Regions from separate parts of the Homo sapiens genome. Here region 1 is linked to region 2. Evidence: promoter capture Hi-C in human tissues and cell types (Jung and others, 2019). All regions are on one chromosome and are shown on one strand. Each heading gives the region's core, a stretch centred on a gene start or on the middle of the fragment in contact. The rest is flanking DNA. Distances are from core to core; before and after follow the strand shown. Region 1 has its middle 27 kb from the start of RBMXL2. Region 2 holds the start of CYB5R2 (cytochrome b5 reductase 2).

Region 1 (3,646 bases), core at 647-3,146, 560 kb before region 2:
GAGGCTGAGACAGGCGGATCGCCTGAGCCCAGGAGTTTGAGTCCAGCCTGGGTAACATGGCGAAACCCTGTCTCTACTAAAAAGAAAAGGAATAGCCAGGTGTAGTGTTGTGCACCTGTAGGCTCAGCTACCAGGGAGGCTGAAGTGGGAGAATTGCTTGAGCCTCAGAGGTTGAGGCTGCAGTGAGCTGTGATCACACCACTGCACTCCACCCTGAGTGCGAGAGTAAGACCCCCCTCTCTCTAAAAAAAAGGTGTATATTCTATAATCCAGCAACCCTGATCTTGGAACTTAACTGAAGAGACTCTCCCATGGGTTTAATGAAGAGAAATGTAAAAGAATACATGTCACTGCATTTTGGGTGGGGGACATTAAATTGTAAGCCCATTGTCATACCTTAAAACTAGTCATTGCATTTTAATGCAATCCCTCCATTACCTCTACTCCTACTTTTTGCTCTCAAACAAGAAGCTACCACCTTATGCTTCATCTTTTAGGCACCATCTTTATTGCAACCAGGAATCCATTTAAACCTACCATTTTTCATAAAACCTTCCTTTCTTCATGTCTTCACTTCTTTCCTACCCAGGTTACATTTTATGGTTCAACTTAATCACTTCATTAACTCCTTTGTCTCTCTCTTGCTCTGATATTTTCACCTGGCAAAACCCCAACCCTGTTAGATCTAACTCTCCACACTTCACAACTATACCAAGGGAGATAAATATGGTTAGGGAAATTTTCAAAACACTGCTGTCTGGTATCACTTTAAATTTATGGTCATATATATCAAGTAGATTCTTAGTGCTGCCAGCAAACAATGTGTTGCCAAATCTGTTCATCCTCCTACTTTTCAGAATCAATGAATGTGTTATACACAGAGCAATATGGGAAGATAATTAAAACAATGTTGATTGAAAAATAAGAGAGTGAAATCTACAATAAAATATCCTTTAGGTAAATTTAAAATGCATATTGCAAAACAACACTAAAGTATATATAAAATGTTCCCATTTTTCATGAATACATACATGTTTAAGACCTTATGGAATGCATTTAACTGGGTGCCCATGAAGGGAAATGGAATACAAACCATATGAGATAATAGGAAAAGAACAAAAGGAAAGCTCATTCTGCCAGACTTTAAGACTGATTACATAGCCAAGTAAGGTGAGAATGACAAAAGAACAATGGAACAGAGTACAAAGGGTGGATGGGAAATTAAGAGAAAAAAGAAATAGACTAAACTATAATAAGAGAAGTGCCTTGCACAGACTAATAGTGACCTGTGGAGTATGATCGATTTCATTCCCTGCACCTGGAGTTTAGTTTTTATATTGAATAAAAGAAAACAGACAAGCAAATGATCTGTCCAGAGAGAGCAAGGGCAGCTAGTCGGGTGTGGCACTTCAGAATAAAGTTGTCTTCATCCTACTATGTAAGAATTCTCCAGCATAAAGTTTCATCTCCTGCCTTCTTACTCTCAAGTAGATATTTTCAGTTCTGATGTCAATAAGAAGCAGATAGGTCACACATATACACATGTGTAAAATGGGCTTCAAGCAGAATAGCTACCAACTGGTCTGCTGACATTTGTCAATGTGGGCCTAGTATTGCTAGAACATTTACAGTTATTTTTAAAAAGAAATCAGAAATATAAATTTTATGTGAGACTTCCCAGTTTTAGATTATTTGCAATCTAATTTATAAAGTTCAAATCACTACATGAGTCCTGATTAGGCTCATGGGCCAATAATTTGGTATATATGAACAGATGTGAAGCCTGCCAGTTGCTAAATTCCACTTATTTACACAGAGCTCGTCAATACTACTCCCTTATTCTTAAATATGAATGGGCAACTGTGAGCCATTATATATTTAAGGAATGCCTGTAGCATGACTAAGGTATACATATTGAAAAAAGCAATCTCTTGGGAAACAGAGATAATTCTGGAAACAGAAAAGAAGTTTAACTATCACATATCATAGTAATCTGCTTTCCAAGTCTAATAACTATTTCTGAGTTCCTACACTGACTTTTAGGAGGTCAAAAATTAGTCTCCTTATTGTCCAGCTGGGCTTTTTGGACATTAGATATTTATTCTAGACTGTAACTCACGTTGTAAAATACTACTGTGTTCATGGATTAGTTACTTTTGACTTTTTTTCTCCATACTGTCTTCAGAATAAGATAAATGTCACTACATCACCAGAGTTCTCAGGTGGCTGGCAGAATGATGACAAATTTAATTATCGCAAGAAACACCGCTGTATTGGTGCTGTACATTGTTCTTGAGAAGGTGTATCGGTCTCTCCAGACCCAAATCCAGATTTGATAACAGGAAATCATCAACTGCATTATGTTACCCTATTAACTCTAAATAAAATATCATGATATTTTAAAATAAAATCATGATTTTAAATCATGATTTTTTAAAAAAACATTATATTTTAAAATAAAATATATAAATATTTTATTTATATTAAAATAAAACTAAATAAAAATATTATGATATTTTTAGTTACATAAAAAGAAAGTGTCAATTCCTTCATCTCTTTTTTTTTTTAGAGTAATAAGACAGAAGAAGCCCAAGAGCAAATATTTTATTATAATGGGCTATATGCTTTTAAGGGATAAAAAGAGGGAATTACAGACATCCTTCGTTTGAACTTCAGTCTTACCAGGGATTTTAAGATTGATGAATTCTGACCTTTTAGTAGAAAAGTAAAATAAAAATTTGCTTGGAAATCTTGGCCATTTATTAAAGTTTTGTGCCTTTGATAATTTTTTTGTTGACTAAAGTTTACATTCTCCATTCAGAACTGTTTGCCACTTGCCATAGAGTTTTGTTTTTTCATTTGTTTAACTGAAATATACTGAGCAACTGCCAAAGCGCAAGACCTGGGATGGGGTGGAGGAGGGATACAAAGATCAGTCAGATGTAGGCTGTGCTGTAAAAATGCTCATGCTCACCATGCTGAAAACTGCTGGTAATTTGCATTAGGTCCAAAAAGAATGTTGTATTATACTTTGCCCAAAATAGAATAATTGCAGGATCTGGAGTCAGACTGCCAAAGTTCAAATCAGCTGTGCAACTTAATAGTGGTGTGACCTTGGATCAATTTCTTACATTTTCTGTTTCTCTGTTCTCTTATCTGTACAGTTGCAGTAAAAAAAATAGTGCAGACATAGATTGTTGTGAAGATTTAATGCAATACTACTTGTACAAGGGAGGCGAATTGCCTCTGGATTCTCACATTATATAGAAATTTGGGGATTTAATTCTTGTAATTATCTTTGAAATAGATTTTATTATGTCTGGCGATTAAAAAAAACAAAGGTTTTTTTAAAGAGTGAATAACATTTTTAAAAATTCATAGACAATACCAGAGCCAAAACTGAATCCTTATTCAATTTTTACATTGCAAACAGGGTTATAGAATTTTCTGAGAGAGTCACATTTTCAGATATTCTGTGTCATTATACCACAGTGTCCCAATTTTGGGTCTGTAAACCATAATCTCTATAATCCTCACTGCCTCTTATGAATTTGGAGTCTGAAATGCCTGGCATTTTCAAGCCCCAAGCCCCAAAAAGCAATCAGAGAAGGAGAAAGGAGCAACTCCTGTTTCAGGGAAAATTAAG
Region 2 (3,621 bases), core at 630-3,129:
CTGGCTAGAGTGTAATCTCACCACCTGATAGAGCTGAGGTCAAGGTTTTGGCCTGTGCATATAAGACAAATAGGCCACGGAGTAGGATCCACCAGGCAGGCAAGCAGCACTAGCAGATTATACAAAGCTGCTCTGAATCCCTGATTCTAGCAGTTTTCTACTGCACTAAGACTGACTCAGCTATCTAGTGGTGTTACAGATTAGAAATGGGATAACTCAACTCTAGGACTCCTAGGGCTGGAATCTGCAACTCGTAGGGCTGGTCCCTCCTTATGTGGGTCTGAGGCCCCTGCAGAGAATCTAAGTGACCTTGGGGGCAGGGCACACCTGACTCATTCCTGCCTACCCGCACATTCTGGGCCTTTCCCCGACCACTGGTTCCTCCCATCCCTCCCAGGTGCACAATACTTTGTAGTTTCTGAATTTTCATATCCATCAGTCACTCTACTTTCACAACAACCCAAGTGAGGTAGACAGGCAGGCCTGGGAAATCCCATTTCATAGACTGAGGCTCAGAGAGATTGAAGGACTTCCCTTAAGTTCCCCAGCAAGGAGCCTTCCATGAGATTTTAGGCCTTTTGGCTCTAGGTTCAGTTCTTTTCAATGCTCACTGAGGTACCACTCTCGTGTCAGCCCAATTGGAATAATGAAGAAAAGAAATTTTCTGTCCCACATCCATCCCCCTATCTATCTCCCTGAGCTCACAGGCTCAGGAGGAGCAAGAGGGCATCTTCCACACCTCAGGACGTGGGAAACCTGTGTTTCTGTTAAGAGAGGAGGGCCTAGCCCCCAGAGGCCCCAGTCCTGGTGATGACCCAAGCCCGGCTCACCTACAGGAAGCCCTAAGACATGGTCCGGCGAAGGCAGTCCAAAGCGGAACCTCCGGGTGTTGTGGCTGATTTTCTGATAAAACAAAACATAGGCAGGTTCTGTCAGCTTTCTAGAAGCCTTGCTGGGCAGCTGAGATGCCTGGGAAAGGAGGTCCGTTTGGCGCTATTCCAGCACACACACACACACACACAGGGCGGCGGGGAGTGAACTGGAGGCCATGAGATGACTGTCTGGATGCCCTGCCATCCCAGCCATCATCCACTTACTGCCTTCCACCCACAGGGCTGACCCATTACCTCTTTCTCAATCAAGGGCAGCGGGTACTTGGCTTCAGGGTCCTGTAAGGTGATTGGCTCTCTCCTCCTGGAGTTCATGCTCTTCAGGACCAACACGAGCACAGTGACCCCAGTGACGGTGATGGTCAGGAGCAGGGACGGGTCCTGGCAGACACAATGTGAACAGAGCACCTCAGGTCTTGCCCGCCCTGGACAGGGCAGCTCTCAGGCGCAGAACACCCTCCCCACACCAAAGGCACAGGAGCTGAGCTCTGCCTGCAGGAAATAGGCAAAGAGAACAGTAGTGACACAGAAGGCGGCTGGGAGAGCCTGTCGTGGACCAGAGGGTAGGGAGGGGTCAGCTGCAGGTCACACAGGAAGGATGTTTCAGGCCCCTGGAGCAGGCAGCACACATGGCCTGGGGTGCTCAGGTCACTAGGCCCCTCCTGGCTACAGCCAAAGGTTCATACACTGGAAGTCCCTTCCTTGAGGTGAAGGGGGAGGACATCACCCCTAACACACAATCCGGAATGAGGGGCCCAGTCCCTAAAGACAGAACTAGGGTGCGTAGCTCTAAGAGGTGCCCCGTGACTTAGGGCCTGGGGACTCCCCAACAGTCTCCTGGACAGGGCGAAGGGGGCCTGGGCACTCAACTGCCAGAGACTCGGGAGCCTCCCCGCATCTGTCCCTACCCTACAAGGCCGCCCTGCTCCTCTCCCAACTCAAGCCCGACAGGGAAAGTTGCCTCTCCTCCCGCCGGGTCACTGGAGTCTCAGCCTTCCGGAATCCGAGCCGGCCCGCCCCACTCCCCGCCCTTCGCGGTCCCGCCCACGACCTCTCCCCACGCCTCCCGCTCCGGCCCCCAACCTCCCGGTCGGACGTTCGTTCCCGGCTCTAGCCGGCCTCCGCGCCTCTGGCCTCTTTCCTTCCGGCCGTCCCGACGGAGATATTTCTTCAATACTCCATAAATACACCCCGCCGCGGAACCCACCCGGAGTGAGACGCCCAACACGTCGTCGAACTGGGGTTGGCCGGGGGCCGCTCCCCGCCGCGGGCCCGCAGACTCGTGGCGTCGCCCCGCAGCTCCGCCTGGCCGACGGGGAACCGGCCGAGACCCGGACACGCACGCCCGGGAGGACAAAAGCGCGGGCGGACCCCGCAGGCTGGGACCCCGGCGGCTGGCCCGCTCCCCGAGAAGGGCCGTGGTCGGGGGGCTCTCACTCACGAGCCGCTGGCTCTGGGTCAGCCCTGCCCCCAGGGCAGCGCTCCATCATGAGGCTGGCGGGGCGCTGAGCCGTGGCGTCCTCGCTCCTGCGCTGCCCCTCTGCATCCTGGCCCCTTCCCTGCACACGCAGAGCTGCCACACTGAGCGCCCCTCAGCTTACTTAAGCTCGGCAAGGCTGGAGAAGGCCGTCTGGGTGACCGGGCGGAGGGGGATGCTGGGGAAGGAAGAATTCAGGCAGCTGCAAAGAGCGCGCGAATATATTCATTCGACATACCTCATGGGCGCCTACCCTGGGCCTGGTCCGGGGCGGGTGTTTGCGGGGTGGGGCCGAAGCAGGGGCGTCGCCGAGTTGAAGACGTGTACTCCGAGCGCTCCTGCGTTCATTCATTCGCTGGGTGGAGAGAGGAAGGACAAGAGCCCCGCGCCGATCGGAGGGGAGCAGAATAGTAGGCACAGTTAGAGGGTCTTCACGGTGCGTTTCGGAACCTTGGCTGCCCGGCTCGCCCTTGATTACAGGCAAAGGCAAATTCTTGCCTCAGGACCTGTGTGAAACAGAGAAGCCCAGAAGCAGATCCCCACCTGTTTGACTCTGCTAGGGCTGCTGTAACAAAGTGCCGCAGACTGAGCGGCTTAAACAACAAAAATTTATTGTCTCGCAGGTCTGGGGGCTGGAAGTCCAAAATCAAGGTGTGGGCAGAGTGGGTTCCTTCTGAGGGCTGTGAGGGAAGGATCTGTTCCATGCCTCTCCTAGGTTTGTAGGAGAGGGGCTAGGAGAAGGGGCATCTTCTTCCTATGTCTCCACATTTTCATCCCTCTGTGTGTGTCCCTGTGTCCAAATTTCCCCTTTTATGAAGACACCAGTCATATTCAATTAGGGTCCATCCTAATGACCTTGTTTTAACTTGATTACCTATGTAAAGGCTCTACCTTCAAATAAGGTCATATCCTTAGGTACTGGGGCTTAGGGCTTCAACATAAGAATCAGGGTGAAAACAATAACCCATAACACTTTACCAACCCTTCTCCCCAAGACACACACCACCACAGGCTCAAAAATTCTTGCTGTGTGAATGAATAAACAAACTTAATTTTCTCTCTTTGACTTAATCAAATGCCTTTACTTTTGATTTACCTGCAGGTGCTTGGTTATTATAGGCAGATATTTTAATTTTTGACAATGCGATAAGTGTAAAATGATGTATCAGGAATCCAATTTGCATTACCTAATAACTGCTAATAAGTTTGAGCACCTTTCATATATTTATTTCCCATGGAGTTTCCTTTTCAGAA

The links. The method cuts DNA at HindIII sites, captures the fragments that hold promoters and counts their contacts. A contact is called where the count stands out against the background at its distance.
Region 1: a contact is called between a fragment that was not itself captured here and the fragment with the promoter of CYB5R2 in region 2, in 1 of the 25 tissues and cell types used here (H1 embryonic stem cells).

The regions. Positions count from the first base shown.
Region 1 is chr11:7,114,119-7,117,764 of GRCh38, forward strand. No RefSeq gene overlaps it. Among named protein-coding and RNA genes, the nearest start is that of RBMXL2, 27 kb to the left of the region's middle. The HindIII fragment of the contact is 6,701 bases long and covers 1-3,646 here.
Region 2 is chr11:7,671,621-7,675,241 of GRCh38, forward strand. CYB5R2 (cytochrome b5 reductase 2) reads right to left here and starts at 1,880. Exons shown (of 9, transcript NM_016229.5): 1 at 1,799-1,880; 2 at 1,128-1,271; 3 at 831-903. The coding sequence starts at 1,205. RefSeq lists enhancers at 1,493-1,542, 1,563-1,662 and a silencer at 2,183-2,392. The HindIII fragment of the contact is 10,078 bases long and covers 1-3,621 here.